3 separate regions of the Homo sapiens genome follow, and all the other regions are linked to region 1. Evidence: promoter capture Hi-C in 16 types of primary human blood cells and fetal thymus (Javierre and others, 2016). All regions are on one chromosome and are shown on one strand. Each heading gives the region's core, a stretch centred on a gene start or on the middle of the fragment in contact. The rest is flanking DNA. Distances are from core to core; before and after follow the strand shown.

Region 1 (2,697 bases), core at 77-2,576:
GCTGGGATTACAGGCACGCGCCACCACACCTGGTTGATTTTTGTATTGTTAGTAGAGACGGGGTTTCACCATGTTGGCCAGGCTGGTCTCAAATTCCTGACCTCAGGTGATCCTCCAGTCTTGGCCTCCCGAAGTGCTGGGATTGCAGGCATGAGCCACTGCGCCTGTGAGTTTTACGTCACAGCTTTGCTACCCAGAGAGACTACTAGATCGAAAATCCCTAGGAAGGACTCTGGTTGATGTAGCTTAACCAGTCAGGGTCCTTCAGAAGAGGTATTCCTGGCAAGGGGGTAGCCTCCCATTTGAGGCTGTCAAAATAATGTGCACACTTCAGTAGGTTGTTAGAAGTGGCCTCCTGGTCAGTGAATCATCAGTGGGATCAGATGAAAGTTATTCCTACCAGTTATCTAAGAAATAGGAAACTTGAAGTTTCTGCTAAGAACTAAGTCCACACGGAATGCTAGAGATCATGCTGCAAAATGAAGACTCATTTGTTTGTGAGTGGTAGTCCATGAAATCTATCCTTTCTTTGCCAGCAGGCGTTCAGCAATCTGGATTTTATATTCTATCAAGACAAAGAGTAGAGATGACTCAAACATTTCTAACATTTATAGAGCACTTAGTGACATGCCCCTGGTACTTCCCTAAACATTTTACATGTGTCATCTCCTTTAATCCTCACAAGAACGCTATGGTCTAAGTATTATTATTCCAATTTAAAAGAGAAGGTTGGGGACAGTGACACACACCTGGACTTACAGCACTTTGGGAGGCCGAGGCGGGAAGATTGCTTGAGGCCAGAAGTTGGATACCAGCCTGGGCAACATAAGGAGACCCCCTTCTTTACCGCTCCCCCACTCCCGCCAAAAATTTAGCCGGGCAATGTGGCACGTGCCTGTAGTCCCAGCTACTCAGGAGGCTGAGGCAGGAGGATCGCTTGAGCCCACGAGTTCGAGATCGCAGTAAGCTATGATCATTCCACTGTACTGCAGCCTGGGTAACAGAGACCCTGTCGCTAAATAAATAAATAGACCTGAGTTGGAATATCGGCTCTGGAGACCTTAGTGTAACCATGCGCAAGTGTTTACTCACCTATTAAATGAGACTAAAGGTATTTTCTTCTCATGACTATATATAGCATACCACTAAGCCCTCTAGACATCATATTCCCCATCCATCGCCCCGTCCAGTGGACCAGGGATGAAGCGGGGATGCGCTAGGCATCCCGGTTTGTCACCAGGGGGCGTGCGAGGCCCTCAGCTTGGCGGGCGGTGAGGCGTGGGGTGACGGGGGGATGGCGGGGGCCGGCATGCGCGCGCATGCGCCGTGGTAAAAGGCCGGTACCTCGGGCAAGATGGCTATCAAGAGTATCGCTTCCCGCCTCCGGGGTTCCCGTCGTTTTCTGAGCGGCTTCGTGGCTGGGGCTGTAGTGGGCGCTGCGGGAGCTGGGCTCGCGGCCCTGCAGTTCTTCCGGAGTCAGGGCGCTGAGGGAGCGTTGACAGGGAAGCAGCCGGATGGTAAGTCTGTGGGCCCGTCCTCCCTTCGCTGGCCCAGATTTCGGGCTCCGACTCCTACCTGGAGTGTGAATGGCAGTCCTTGACGGACAGCCTTCACCGTTTGCTGGGCCCCTAGCCTGGCCCTTGGTTTCTGACCTTTATTCTCCCGGCTCGGCCTCCCTTCCCCACCTCGCGTCTCGCCAGCTTCCCTCATGTCCTTCCTTCCCCCGGGCATCTTCGTTTTCTGCACAGAACCACCCCCGCCGCCCGACTTTCTTCCCCCCAGTTACTCATCGCGATATCTATGTTTTAATGTCTGTGTTCTCTACTAAGATTGTTAGCTCCATAAGACTTGAGACTATGTCTGTTTTGGTCTCCATCATCTAACCAGCACAGTACCTGGTACATAATTGGCATTCAGTAAGTATGAATGAAGGAATAAATTAATACATAATTTTAGTAGATGAGTTAACTGCCCTTCTTTCGTCATTGTTCAGTTGAAGAATACCTGCTATCCCTCCAAAGTGTATAAAAACTCATGTTGCAATGGGTACCTTATATTTGACAAAAAAAAAAAAAAAATTAACACGAGCTCATTTCTTGTACTTTGCGGATGTGCTAATTTAACTTGCTCCTTTGGATACTTGGCATCTAGCAAGAGAACTACCCCCTTGGGGGGTTGAGGATTTGAGAAGGCATCGGGGAGGATTATCTCGAAACTGACTCACTGCTGAATGTGTGCTTGGTTTCTCCCACTAGGAAAAACAGTACCAGTTTTACTGTCATCTTGCAACAGCACACATATCAGTGCTTCAGAGATGATTTGGAAATTTGATGTGAAAGACTAATAAGATCAAGTCTTTATTCAAAAGTTAATGCAGTAGCTGCATTTTATTCACTGATTATAGGCAAATCAGTACTTTGCCTACTGTCTGTTTTCTTCATCTCATAAGTAATTGCAAAAATGAGATTTTCTGGTTGATTAGACTTCTGAGCCAGTCCTTTGTAAATCACACCGCTCTCCTTTTCCTTATAATCTTTCATTATTAAGAGCCACTAATTGTGTGTGTGTGTTTTTTTTGTCTCTGCCCCCCCTTTTTTTTTTTTTTTCATTTTTAGGATCTGCAGAAAAGGCTGTCTTGGAACAATTTGGATTCCCTTTAACTGGAACAGAGGCAAGGTGTTACACTAATCACGCTTT
Region 2 (2,697 bases), core at 129-2,628, 460 kb before region 1:
TTCAGGATGTAAGGCAAGCAAACTCAGTGTGGAGTAGAAAGTGGTTGGTTGTATCACCTGTGAGCAAAAGCCATGGTGTGCAAATGACAACAGTCAATGTGATGTTATGCTGCTGCCCTGGACAAATGCAGTCCTCTTTTCCATCTCAGTGATGCTGTCATCACCCCCCTGATTGCACACACAGGATACCTGGGAGTCATTCTTGGTGCCTGTTTCTTACCTCCCATTATCCACCAGCAAGTCTTATCAATTCTACTTTTTGGATCTATCTCCAATCCAGTTCCCTCTCTCTCATCCAATCTCCCTTCATCTCTTTCCTAACTTCTGTGCTAGTTTCCTAACTGAACTTCCTGATGCCTCTTGCCTCTCCTGTCTATTCTCATAGCAATCAGAATGATCTTAGTAAAACAGAGCTGACCATGACATGCCCCAGCTTAAGACCCTTGATGAACCTCCTACTGCCCTCAAAATAAAGTCCAAATTCCCTATTGTGGCCTACCAACCCACTTATGATCTGGCCCTAACCTATCAGTGTCATTCCTCCACCCTCACACTCTTTAAGTTCCACTCCTCCTGAATTTCATTCCGTCCTTCCCACATTTTTAAATATTTTGTAAAGATGGGGTCTCCCTATGTTGCCCAGGCTGGTCTCAAACTCCTGGCTTCAAGTGATCCTCGTGCCTCAGCCTCCCAAAGTGTTGGGATTACAGGTGTGAGCCACCACACACACGCTCTTATTTAGGTACTTTTTTGTTTTTTGTCATTCTACTAACTGTAGTACTGCATTGTGGTTTTAATTTCCACTTCTTTGATGACTAATGATGTTCAGTCTACTCCTTCTTTGAAATCTCTGCTTGGTTTTCATTTGTTCCAAGAAGTAATCGCTCCTTCTACAGACTAAGTTCCTGTCCTCCTTTGTAGTTCCATGACAACCAATATTTATCTCCACCTTGGCCTTAACCCACTAAAGTACAGTTGTTTTACTTTTACCTCCACACCCACCGCCATCATCACAAACACACACATACACGACTGTGCACTTCCTGAAGGCAGAAGCAGCATCATACTTCTTTGGTATCTTCAGCAATCAGCACAGACCTGAAACACAATCTTTACACAATAAATATGATGAGTGAATGAACAGTTGCTTAACAAATTAAAGAATGGATGAAGGTAGGTAGTTAGGTACAAGGTTTTGCAGATAGGCCTGGCTGTGTCAATTAAACCTTTCTTCATGGGTCCTCACACTTAGTAAGCTCACTTTTAAAAGGACAATGCTGAAGACACAAATGTTTACAATGACCACAGCGATGACGGGATCCGAGAGAAAGGCAAGGCGGAAGGGGTGAGGCCGGAAGCCGAAGTGCCGCAGGGAGTTAGCGGCGTCTCGGTTGCCATGGAGACCAGGAGCTCCAAAACGCGGAGGTCTTTAGCGTCCCGGACCAACGAGTGCCAGGGGACAATGTGGGCGCCAACTTCGCCACCAGCCGGGTCCAGCAGCCCCAGCCAGCCCACCTGGAAGTCCTCCTTGTATTCCTCCCTCGCCTACTCTGAGGCCTTCCACTACAGCTTCGCAGCCCGGCCCCGCCGCCTCACGCAGCTTGCGCTGGCGCAGCGTCCCGAGCCTCAGCTGCTTCGTCTGCGCCCCTCCTCGCTGCGCACCCAAGATATCTCGCACTTGCTCACCGGCGTCTTCCGCAACTTGTACTCAGCCGAGGTCATCGGCGACGAAGTGAGCGCAAGCTTGATCAAGGCCCGCGGCAGCGAGAATGAGCGCCACGAGGAGTTCGTGGACCAGCTGCAGCAGGTAACGTGGCGGTGGCGTCGCGTCTGCGGACGGTGCCGGGGTCTCAGCGCTCGGCACGCGTCAGCACCTGCCAGGTGCCAGGCGCTGTTCCAGGATCTGGGGCTGCAGTTGAGAAACAGCCCATCATGCCGAAGTGGGCCCGACATTCTAGTGGAAGGACGCTCTATCCATACACACACATGCGCAAATACCACACATACCACACAACGTGCGGCATATATCTGTAGCACCTGTCTATATTTCTCTAGACACATACGTTATATATTGCATATATCAATGAACGACTGCGGCAGACCGCTGAATAGTTGTTCCATGGAGAGGATAAAGCCAAAAGTCACCCGGCTTTGGGGTGCCTTTGTATCACAAACCACAATCTTGACTGGGCCATTCATGCGCAGATTTTAGGAAGCGTGTCTAGCCTCTAGAACAGCAACTCTGCTTCCTCATCTGTACAAGGAGAAAACCAGCTGACTCGCGGCCTCTGTGCTGAGTCGGCCTCTGCTGGCCACACTACTGAAGACTCCCTTAAACTTGTGGGCACTCCTCCCATACCCGATCCTTTACCCCGGTGTGCTTCCTGCCTCTCAGATCTTCTTCTTCTCCTTTCTGTTCTGTCCTCTACCTGCCCCTTAAGTGACATGCATCCCACGTCGTTAGCTTCAGTCATTCCTTCACTTAACACATTTGTTGAATGTCTGCTGGGTGTCATACTCTGTTCTAGGCAGTGGGGATTCAGCAGTGAATAAAAACGCCAGTGTTCGGGCACACCCACACTCACACACGCAACCTGTCCTCTGTAGCTTTCAACCTAACTGAGGTAGATAGACATTAACAAAATGAATACCTATACAGTATGTGAGATACTTACAGGACCAGTCTCGCCGCCTCCA
Region 3 (2,697 bases), core at 140-2,639, 350 kb after region 1:
TTCTGTTATAGATTTCTAATTCAATTCCATTGTGATTGAAAACATATTTTTAGGATTTGAATATTTAAAATTTATTGAGACATTTTATAGTCCCATCTTGGTAAATGTTCTATAAGTACTTAAAAATAATGTGTATTTTGTTCTTACTGAGTTCTATAAAAATCAGAGCAAGTTGGCTGATAGTTTTGTTCAAGTCTCCTATACCTTTTTATATTTTCACTCAGTCCTGGAGTGGTCACTCCCAACTCCAGGCAGGGCGTTTCCCTCACTTGATGTCTCCCCTGATTAGTGGTCCATCCCTTGAGGCTTTGGTGCCCTCCCATGGAATAGTAGAAACCTCTCTTTTCAAACTTCAATGTGAAAATGGATGATCCAGAACATTACTGAGACCTTCACTTAGATCCAAAGCAATTTTTTTTTCAAGTATTGCTCTTTAAAACATTAATTTAGGAGAAAAACTGCGTAGAAGTCTAACTAGGGCTCATGAATCAATAGAATATGAGCCATCAGCATGATTTGGCTCCAGGTATATTTCCTATAGTCCTATAGCTCCAATATACCTCCTATACTTAAAATATAGGAAGAACTTAGAGTATGGAAAGGGGGCAGGGGAACTTGAAGCTGCACTGGCACCAATGACACAGTGTTTTTACTTAGCCTGTATGCTCATTCAGAGTATCTTGAATTGGGGGATTGGTGCAGATTAAAGGAAGCTAAATTAGTACCCCCAGGATACCTCTTGGTAGCACTACAGTCAGACTAGTACAGTTGTAGTCTACATTAATAGAAGTCTATTGTCCAAAAGGAAAAGATGTTCCATTGCTCCCTGCTCTTCTAAAACCTGGGCACCTGGTTTTAGAAGAGATAGATTAACCATATTTAGAAGAGATAGATTAACCATAGATTGCCTGAAGAAGGGAGAGAATAGAAAAAGGATGGAAGCTCTGTCAAAATATTAGGGGACCAAATACATCTACAGAACTGAGTATATTAAATTTGGAGAGGGAGCACAGCATCTCCCCAGTGTGAGTTTCCACATTGTAAAGACAACTTTAAAAACATGCATTACTTTGAGAGAAAAAGAAATGGATGCAAAAGGTTCACAGACACTAGCAAGAAAACCCTGTACCTTCTGTTTAACATCAAGCACATTGTCTCTTTTTGTCTGAGAGGCAGTGCAGTATAGTGGTTGATAGCTTGAGACCTAGAGCCAGAATGCTTGGGTTTGAATCCTGACAAAACCTCTTACTGGCTCTCGAAGAAGCCTCTTATTTCCTCTACATGCCTTAGTTTCCTCATCTGTATAATGAAGGTTACAAATAGTTTCTACCTAATAGAGATATTGTGAAGAGGTAAGGCTGGTAAAGTGGTTACCTGGCCCAGAGTAAGTGCTCAATAAATGTTAGCTCTTGTTTTCTCAGTGCTACTTTGATTACTCCTTGTGTATCAAGGGACAGGATTGCCCATTCAATGACCCCGGAGGTTCTATCTGGGTTGCCAGGCAACAAGCAATCTGGAATCAGTGGCTTACCCTCCTTGAGCAGGAGTAGCTATACAGGATTTCGGATCCCCAAGGGCATTGGGTGTTAGAAACTGACATTCCAAGACTGCTCCCTGGAATAGCTGGCTCCCTGGCCCAATTGTTTATAAGGCAAGCTCTCATCTTCGCCCTATAAAAAGGTAGAGCAATAAGGGGTGGGATTCTTTCCTGGATCCTGCATGCTGCTTGGTGGAAGGGATGAAAAGGTGGGACTGTGTATCTCATCTTGTTGACCCAATTTCTCCAAGGAAGCCTGCTCTGTTCTCACATTACATGTCATGGTATTTACTGTCACCTACTACCCCACATTCTTCTCTGAACTGTCTCACTCCTCTTCACCTTCATTCCCTGAAAACATACCCTCAGGGCAAGTCCCTTGCCTGCTTCTAGAGCTGGGTGTACTCTCTCTCTCCCATGATGTCTGCTCCTGGGGTTTCAGACATCACCTTTGCACCGAAGACTCCTGTCCACACCTTGTCCTCAAGTTCAAGTCTTGGCTGGGCATTGTCAGTTAGACCTGACATCTTAAACTTTCAAAATATTTAAAATTGAATTACATTTTAGATGTTCTTCCTCAGCCATTAAAACAAACAAACAAACTCCAACCCTTGCTCCTCCTATGCTATTAACTTAGTACCCTTTACTGTCATCTATCTTGTCCTCCCTCATGGTCAGGCAGCTGGCACAAGCATCTTGGAATCACACCGCATTGCCCTCACCTCCTTCCTGGCTCAGTGCCTCTTCCCTACCAGGATCAGACCTTGTTTTTCTCCATTCCACCTTGCACATTCTATCCAGTTATTTTTCTTCCCTGCTAAAACACCTTCAATGCCTTCTTATTATCAAAATACGCTAGAACTCCTCACTCTGGCATTTGAGGCTCTCCACAAATGTCTGTGTCTAAGATTCAGTTGCTGCTGCTCCACTCCCTATACTCCATGTCCAGTCAGTTGGGTAATTCATACTTCCTCACACTTTCTAGTTGCCATTGAGCTGCCTGTACTGTCTCCCCGACTTCAAACACCCTCCAAAACCAGGTTCACCTGTCAAAATCCTACATACCTGTCAAGCGCATCCATCTCAGATGCTCCTCTCTCAGGAGGTCTTTCTGTGAGCTTGCTTCATTCATGTCCTCAGAGCAGAGGCATGTTTCTGGT

What was found. Contacts are between HindIII fragments. The CHiCAGO score rates a contact against its expected background, and 5 or more counts as called.
Region 2: the fragment with the promoter of DLEC1 here is called in contact with the fragment with the promoter of EXOG in region 1 in 3 of 17 cell types (total B cells, naive CD8 T cells and fetal thymus); the score reaches 8.6 in total B cells.
Region 3: a fragment that was not itself captured here is called in contact with the fragment with the promoter of EXOG in region 1 in 2 of 17 cell types (endothelial precursors and megakaryocytes); the score reaches 5.3 in endothelial precursors.

The regions. Positions count from the first base shown.
Region 1 is chr3:38,495,014-38,497,710 of GRCh38, forward strand. EXOG (exo/endonuclease G) reads left to right here and starts at 1,327. Exons shown (of 6, transcript NM_005107.4): 1 at 1,327-1,517; 2 at 2,616-2,697. The coding sequence starts at 1,355. RefSeq lists enhancers at 1,476-1,525, 1,586-1,655. The HindIII fragment of the contact is 8,358 bases long and covers 1-2,697 here.
Region 2 is chr3:38,037,830-38,040,526 of GRCh38, forward strand. DLEC1 (DLEC1 cilia and flagella associated protein) reads left to right here and starts at 1,379. Exons shown (of 37, transcript NM_007335.4): 1 at 1,379-1,807. The coding sequence starts at 1,397. RefSeq lists enhancers at 1,444-1,653, 1,944-2,173. The HindIII fragment of the contact is 3,706 bases long and covers 1-1,741 here.
Region 3 is chr3:38,840,895-38,843,591 of GRCh38, forward strand. No RefSeq gene overlaps it. Among named protein-coding and RNA genes, the nearest start is that of SCN10A, 26 kb to the left of the region's middle. The HindIII fragment of the contact is 4,023 bases long and covers 1-2,697 here.